Regions from separate parts of the Homo sapiens genome. Here region 1 is linked to region 2. Evidence: promoter capture Hi-C in 16 types of primary human blood cells and fetal thymus (Javierre and others, 2016). All regions are on one chromosome and are shown on one strand. Each heading gives the region's core, a stretch centred on a gene start or on the middle of the fragment in contact. The rest is flanking DNA. Distances are from core to core; before and after follow the strand shown.

Evidence for each region. The method cuts DNA at HindIII sites, captures the fragments that hold promoters and counts their contacts. A CHiCAGO score of 5 or more calls a contact.
Region 1: a fragment that was not itself captured here is called in contact with the fragment with the promoter of SIGLEC10 in region 2 in 3 of 17 cell types (erythroblasts, megakaryocytes and endothelial precursors); the score reaches 8.4 in erythroblasts.

What each region holds. Positions count from the first base shown.
Region 1 is chr19:51,613,200-51,616,096 of GRCh38, forward strand. The region is part of intron 8 of SIGLEC5 (sialic acid binding Ig like lectin 5); the gene reads right to left. LOC124904753 (a long non-coding RNA gene) reads left to right here. Exons shown (of 3, transcript XR_007067313.1): 2 at 630-850; 3 at 2,225-2,517. Among named protein-coding and RNA genes, the nearest start is that of SIGLEC5, 16 kb to the right of the region's middle. RefSeq lists a silencer at 2,468-2,617. The HindIII fragment of the contact is 7,305 bases long and covers 1-2,897 here.
Region 2 is chr19:51,415,479-51,418,934 of GRCh38, forward strand. It overlaps SIGLEC10 (sialic acid binding Ig like lectin 10), which reads right to left and starts at 2,164. Exons shown (of 11, transcript NM_033130.5): 1 at 2,067-2,164; 2 at 1,604-1,987; 3 at 1,188-1,472; 4 at 832-879; 5 at 420-689; 6 at 90-137. The coding sequence starts at 2,103. It overlaps SIGLEC10-AS1 (SIGLEC10 antisense RNA 1), which reads left to right and starts at 246. Exons shown (of 3, transcript NR_164125.1): 1 at 246-654; 2 at 951-1,252; 3 at 1,654-2,719. RefSeq lists enhancers at 2,094-2,263, 2,324-2,393. The HindIII fragment of the contact is 3,908 bases long and covers 1-2,602 here.

The DNA of each region.
Region 1 (2,897 bases), core at 4-2,503, 200 kb after region 2:
GTCACAGGCTGGGCACTCAGGCAGCAGGTGGTGTGCCAGGATAAAGGAGTATTCTGTGAAAGTCACACTGTGAACATGATGGCCAGATCTCTGGGGTTCCCATTCAAGGCCGGGCTAGATTTTATGACCACTCCCCAAAGAGAGACCTCAACACCAAATAAGAGAAAAATACAACAAATGGTTCCCACAGGGAAGTTGGGCTGATGTGACATTTATCAATTCATCCTTTTATAATCCACTCCTCCTAAGGACAGGCCATAGGCTGCCTAGGTCAGGGTCTATGTCTGATTTCTCACACTGTACGTGCCCAGGAACCGGCACAGGGCAGACAGGGCTGGGTTCAAATCCCGGCCCCACCTGTCCATATACATTTCCTGTGAACTCAACTATTCGCTCATTCTTTCAAAATTTTGTAATACTATGATTGATCAGACCATATTGAGGACTTACTAATCACATTGAATCATCACCAAAAAAAAACCCACAACAGTATAAAAGATATTCTAATTATCCCCACCTTACACACAGGGAAACTGAGGTGGAGAGAGGTTAAGTAGCTTGCCCAGGGTTATTCATCTAATACATGGCGAGGCCAGGATTCGAACTCAGCCCTGTCTCCCCTGTTTCAGGTTCTGGGCACGTACAGTGTGAGAAATCAGACATAGACCCTGACCTAGGCAGGAGGAGCGGATTATTGATGAAGCAAATGTATACCTTCGGCATAGGTTACAAGGTGTCTTATGTGCAAACCAGAAAAGAGATGGCAATTCTGATCCTGGACCCAGTTTCCATGAAAGAGAAACAAAATGGAGCAGATCCTGTCCCCAGCAAAGATGGTAACCAGATACAAGTAAGCAATTTCTTTCCTCTCCCACCTTCACCCATATCCCTACCCATCACGCTATGGAAAATATGTTGAAAGCAACGTGAGTCTTCAAACAGTAGCTCAGAAGTTTTCTTTTTGAGACAGAGTTTCACTCTGTCATCCAGGCTGGAGGGCAGTGGTGTGATTTCGTCTCACTGCAACCTCCCGTCCCTGGCTCAAGCAATCCTCCCACCTCAGCTTCCTGAGTAGCTGAGACCACAGGCACAAGCCACCATGCCCAGCTAATTTTTGTAAAGACAGGGTTTCGCCACGTTACCCAGGTTGGTCTCAAACTCCTGGGCTAAGCGACTGGCCCAGCTTAGCCTTCCAGAGTGGTGGGATTACAGGTGTGAGCCACCACACCTGGCCATACAGTTTTTTTAAAAGGACTCCGCAGTTAGGGAAAAATGGCTTCATTGTGTCAGAAAAAAATAGACTTTCTGGAGAGAGCTGCTTATATTAGGCACAAGAAAGATGAAATAAAATGAAAAAGTGGCTATGCACACCAGCATTATGCAGGCAAAGGAAGAAATAAAGACATATGTCTATCAATAGGTGTGCGGTATATGAAATAAAAAGGGTGAAATTGACAACTGAAAGAAAAGGCACAGCTCAGATTAGTAAATAGGACAATGCAGTATGTTCACCCTTTCACTCAATAGCTCTTTGCTGAGTGCTTTCTTTGGGCTAGATGCCGTTCGTATAAATGAGGACATAAAGCAGACTGAAACCACCCAAATACCTCCCCGTCATGCAGTTCCTTGTTAGACAGAAGGAAAAGTAATACTGGGTAACAGTTATAAGTGAGCTCCCTGTGAGCTTGCCACTTTACTAAGCACTCCTTGTAACAATCCGAGACAGATACTAGCATATTAATAACCCAATTTCTATAGGAGAAAACAAAAAAACAGAGAGGTTCATTAGCTTATCCAAGGTCACACAGCTTGCAAGTGGGTGAATCTAGAACCTGAATGCAGGACGTCAAACTCCAGGGACCATGCTGTGCCTCGCTTTACCATTCTGCCTATGGCATGAAAGTGTGCAGAATGGTTAAAGGTAAAATAAAGGAGAAAACAAAGCTCTCTCTACCATAGTTCTTGTCAAAAGAGTGAATTCATACACCGGCTCTGTTCTCCAAGACCTACCAATGATGGAACTAAAGATGGAGCTCCTGGGTGAACAAAACTTTACAAATCAATTTATGATCAATCAATCACACTGATATCCCTAGGGGAAAGTTAAGGCTCATTTGAAGAAAAGGGGTGGGAGAACTGGGCGGGGGGACAGCTGGCTTGTTGAGAGGATGGGTTAGCCCAAACATACTTGAATTCTGCTCCTTTCTCTCCTCTACCCTTCCAGTGGGACAAACATTGTCTGCCCCTCACTGCAGAATTCAGAGTATGGACAGGATTATGATGTGCCAGTGTCCAACAGGCATGTGTTGGGTAAGCACCAGAGGCCCACTGGGGTGAGGAGAAGGAGAACGGAGGTGGAAGCTCACTGGTCTTTGACATTCTCCTTGCCATTTTCTCCACTCCAAACTCCCAGGGCTGGTGGATCACAATGCAACGAGAGTCCTTGACCAATGTTGCTTCTCCACGAGGGTCTGAAGATGGAGGGATGACTTAAGCTGCCTTACTGGGGTGATAGGAAGTGGGACTGGTTGGGTGTGGTTTGGGTTCTTGAGGGGATCCACCCTGGGGCTTGTCCCAGTCATTTCTCTTTTTTTGAGACGATGCTTCACTGTTGTTGCCCAGGCTGGAGTGCAATGGCATGATCTCGGCTCACTGCAACCTCCACCTCCCAGGTTCAAGAGATTCCCCTGCCTCAGCCTCCCGAGTAGCTGGGATTACAGGCATGTGCCACCACACCTGGCTAATTTTGTATTTTTAGTAGAGACGGAGTTTCTCCATGTTGGTTGGGCTGGCCTCAAACTCCCGACCTCAGGTGATCTGCCCACCTCGGCCTCCCAAAGTGCTGGGATTATAGGCGTGAGCCACCGTGCCCGGCGTCCCTGTCATTTCTTTGGCTC
Region 2 (3,456 bases), core at 914-3,413:
TCAGGGACCCTCCTGCGTGGGGACCCTCCAGACTCCTGGGCCCCCAATTCGGCACTGAGAGGCCTTGGCTCCTCTGTCCCCTTTCCTACCTGTCCTGTTTGCTTGGGAAACCATCACTCTCAGGTTCTCTGGAGGATCTGAAATGGAGACAGGGGACCGGCTCTAGACGGACCAGGGGCTTCCCTCTGGGTAAAGGGAACCATCCTGGACACTGAGGTGGGGGAAGTGGGTGGGATAGAAGGGCAGGGCAGAATCACCCACTGAGTCCCAGACACAAACTGCATGAGGGTCTACACAGGTAAGAAGGTCGGTCTCCGAGGCCTGGGGCTCCAGGCCCCCTCAGCTCTGGGACCCTGAGCCCAGCCCCTGTATCCCTCTGCCCTCCCAATGGACTCCAGGCCCCTGCTGGGCACACTCACACTGCACAGAGAGGTCCAGGGCTCGCTGCTGGGAGCCAAGCCTGTTCTCCGCTCGGCAGGTGTAGCGCCCTGAATCCCCAGCCTTCACCCCGGGCAGCTCCAGCCCCAGGGGTCTAGGGCCCCAGGGATGGGACGAGGAGAGGACTCTGTTCTGCAGGACCCAGCTCAGTGTGGCAGGGGGCTGGCTGTCAGCAGCACAGAGGAGCCGCAGGAACTGGCCTTTTTGGGCTTCCAGGTATGGGACATTTCCCTGGGGCTGGGGCTCCAGGGCTGGAGTGGGAGGAAAAAAAAAAAAGAGAGAAAGGGAGGGAGAAAGAGAGAAGGGGTACAGGGAGGAGCACATCCCCTCATCCCCTGAAGCCTTTTCATCTAAAGACAACTGGCCCAGCCCCAGCCCGACGGCCCTCAGTACCTGGCGTGTTGTCACGTGAAATGCTGATAACAAGGTCTCTGGGGGCATCTGCAACAAGATTGTGAGCTGGCTTCAGGGAGGGACAATTTATTCCTCACACCTGGAAAAAACTCCCTCAGGGAAAAGAAAGTGGGACTATCCCGGGAAGACAAGTGACAACCAGCGCCAGGGCTCACGTGTGTGGACCAGACGCCATTCCCATCCCCCTCCCAGGGCTGCGGCGGCATCCTGGGACCCCACAGCTTCCTCTCCCTGGATGCTCCTGAGCTGGGAGCCGCTCACTGTCCCACTGGGCTCCTCCACCTCCCCACCCACCGGGGCTGTCTGCACACCCCACCCTCCCAGGCCACACTCACAGGCCACACGGAGTCGGACGGTCCTCTGTGCGCTCACACCCTTTCTGGAGAAGTCCACATGGCAGGTGAGGTCGGTGTTGTGGTCCTGGGGTCTGGGCGTGAAGCTGAGCACTGAGAAGTGGGAGGTCGTTGGTTTGGTTCCTTGGGAGGAGAGGGCAGCCCCCGTCCAGGAGAAAGAAGGGGGTGGACATTCCTCAAAGGCCCAGTTAAACACACAGATGACCGTCACCGGCTGCCCGGGCTCCAGGGTCTCGGGGATGTAGACATCAGGCTTCTGAGTCAGGGCTGGGACAGAGACCGTGGTGGGAGATTCTTGTGCTGCAGGGGTCCCTGAGAGCCCTCTCTGCTCAGCCCATAGGCTGTCCCCAGGGTCCCTCCCCAGTGTGAGAGGCAGGGGTTCCCACCCCATTCCATACCTGTTACTTTTAGAAAGAACCCATCGTTCATGAAATTATATCTCACATAGCTTCCTCTCTCCACCCGAAAGAAGTACTGTGACTCATCCTGCATCTGCGCGTCTCTGATCACCAAGGAGCAGTTCCCCTTGGCGGGATCCCCAGTGAGCTGGAATCGGCCCCGGGTGCTCATTTCCACCTCTCGACTCTGGTGGTTTGTGGCCACAGGAGCACCCTTGGTTGTCTCAGTCACTGCTTTGAACCAGTAGCCATAAGCTGGGGTAGACCCTGTCCAGTCCTGTCGGGGGTAGGAGAAAGAGCAGGGCACAGAGATGCACAGGCCCTCCGGCACCATCACTGACTCCTGCACTCGTATCCAGAATCTCCCATCCATAGCCTGGGACCCTGTGGGGAGACAGAGGCTCAACCTGCAACCCCAGCCCTAGCTCCGCCCCAGGTCCTTTCCGGCCCTTGGCCCACTCACCGCCCAGCAGCGAGGACAGCAGCAGTGGCAGTAGCATCTCCGCATAGGAGGCGCAGGGCCTGCCTGAGACAGGCCTGTTCTCTGGTCGTGCTGTGAGTGGCTCAGGGCTCTTGGCAGAAGGGGAAGCCGAAGGCGGAAGCTGAGCCCTGGGGCCTGATGCATGAAATGAGCTTCAGACGCTGAGCTCACAGAACTCCTTTGCCTTCCCCCACACTCTCCGGCCCACCTTGCCCAGTTGTCCTCTGGGTCTCCTGGGGGCCCAGCCTGGCCTTGGGCTTGTTGAGCTGGTCCTTCCAGAGCTCCCTGTGTAGGAGGAGAGGGCAGGCTTGTGTCTATCCTGGGGGCCTGGCTGGGGGTGGGGTAGTGGGGTGGGGGCTCTCCCTCTGGGCCCTGGGTCATCGGAAAAGCAGAAGTGAGAAGTCCACAGTGAGCTACCCTTATCTGGGCCACTGGTGGTGGAGGTGGTGGGTACAGGGGAAGGGACCGTTACTGGAGGGGGCTGGTCTTGTCAGGTAAAATGCAGGATGCCTGGTTAAAGCTTTCACAGACAATATAAAGTATTTTATTTTATGTTTTTTGGTATAAGTATGTCCGAAATGCTGCATGGGATATACTTATACCAGAAAGCAAAATAAATTTATCTGAAATTCAAATTAATTAATTAATTAATTATATTTTGAGACAGAGTCTCACTCTGTCACCCAGGCTGCAGTGCAGTGGTGCAATCTCTGCTTACTGCAACCTCCACCTCCCAGGCTGAAGTGATTCTCCTGCCTCAGCCTCCTGAGTCTGGGCTTACAGGCACGCGCCACCACGCCAAGCTAATTTTTGTATTTTTAGTAGAGGTGGGGTTTCACCATGTTGGCAGGGCTGGTTTTGAACTCCTGACCTCAAATGATCCACCTGCCTTGACCTCCCAAAGTGCTGAGATTACAGGTGTGAACCACCGCACCTGGCCTAAAATTCAAATTTAACTGAGCATGTTGAATTTCTTTTTTTCTAAATCTGGCCACCGTAGGGTGGTGTCAGCTCCACCTCTTCATGCTTCCTGGTGAGCTCACTGACCCTTGGTCCCCAGAAGCAGTCTCCTGCCCCAACCAGGCCCTAGTCCACTTCCCAGTCTCCCTTCCTCCTCTGTCATTCAATTGGGACACCCATTGGGATTAGAACACATATGTCCAAAGCTAATGCTGATGGGAAGAGTTTGAGGAAGGCGGGAGTGAGGGGCAGAGTGGGGGGAACAGACTAGGGAAGGGGTAATTTGCAATGAATGGAGTAAACTCTACAAGATGTTTTCCCCTCACTGAGCTCTTCCTGAAATGACTCTGTTTGGGTCACACCGAAACACAGAACTCATCCTTCAACCTCCACATACCTTGGGTATCAAGCA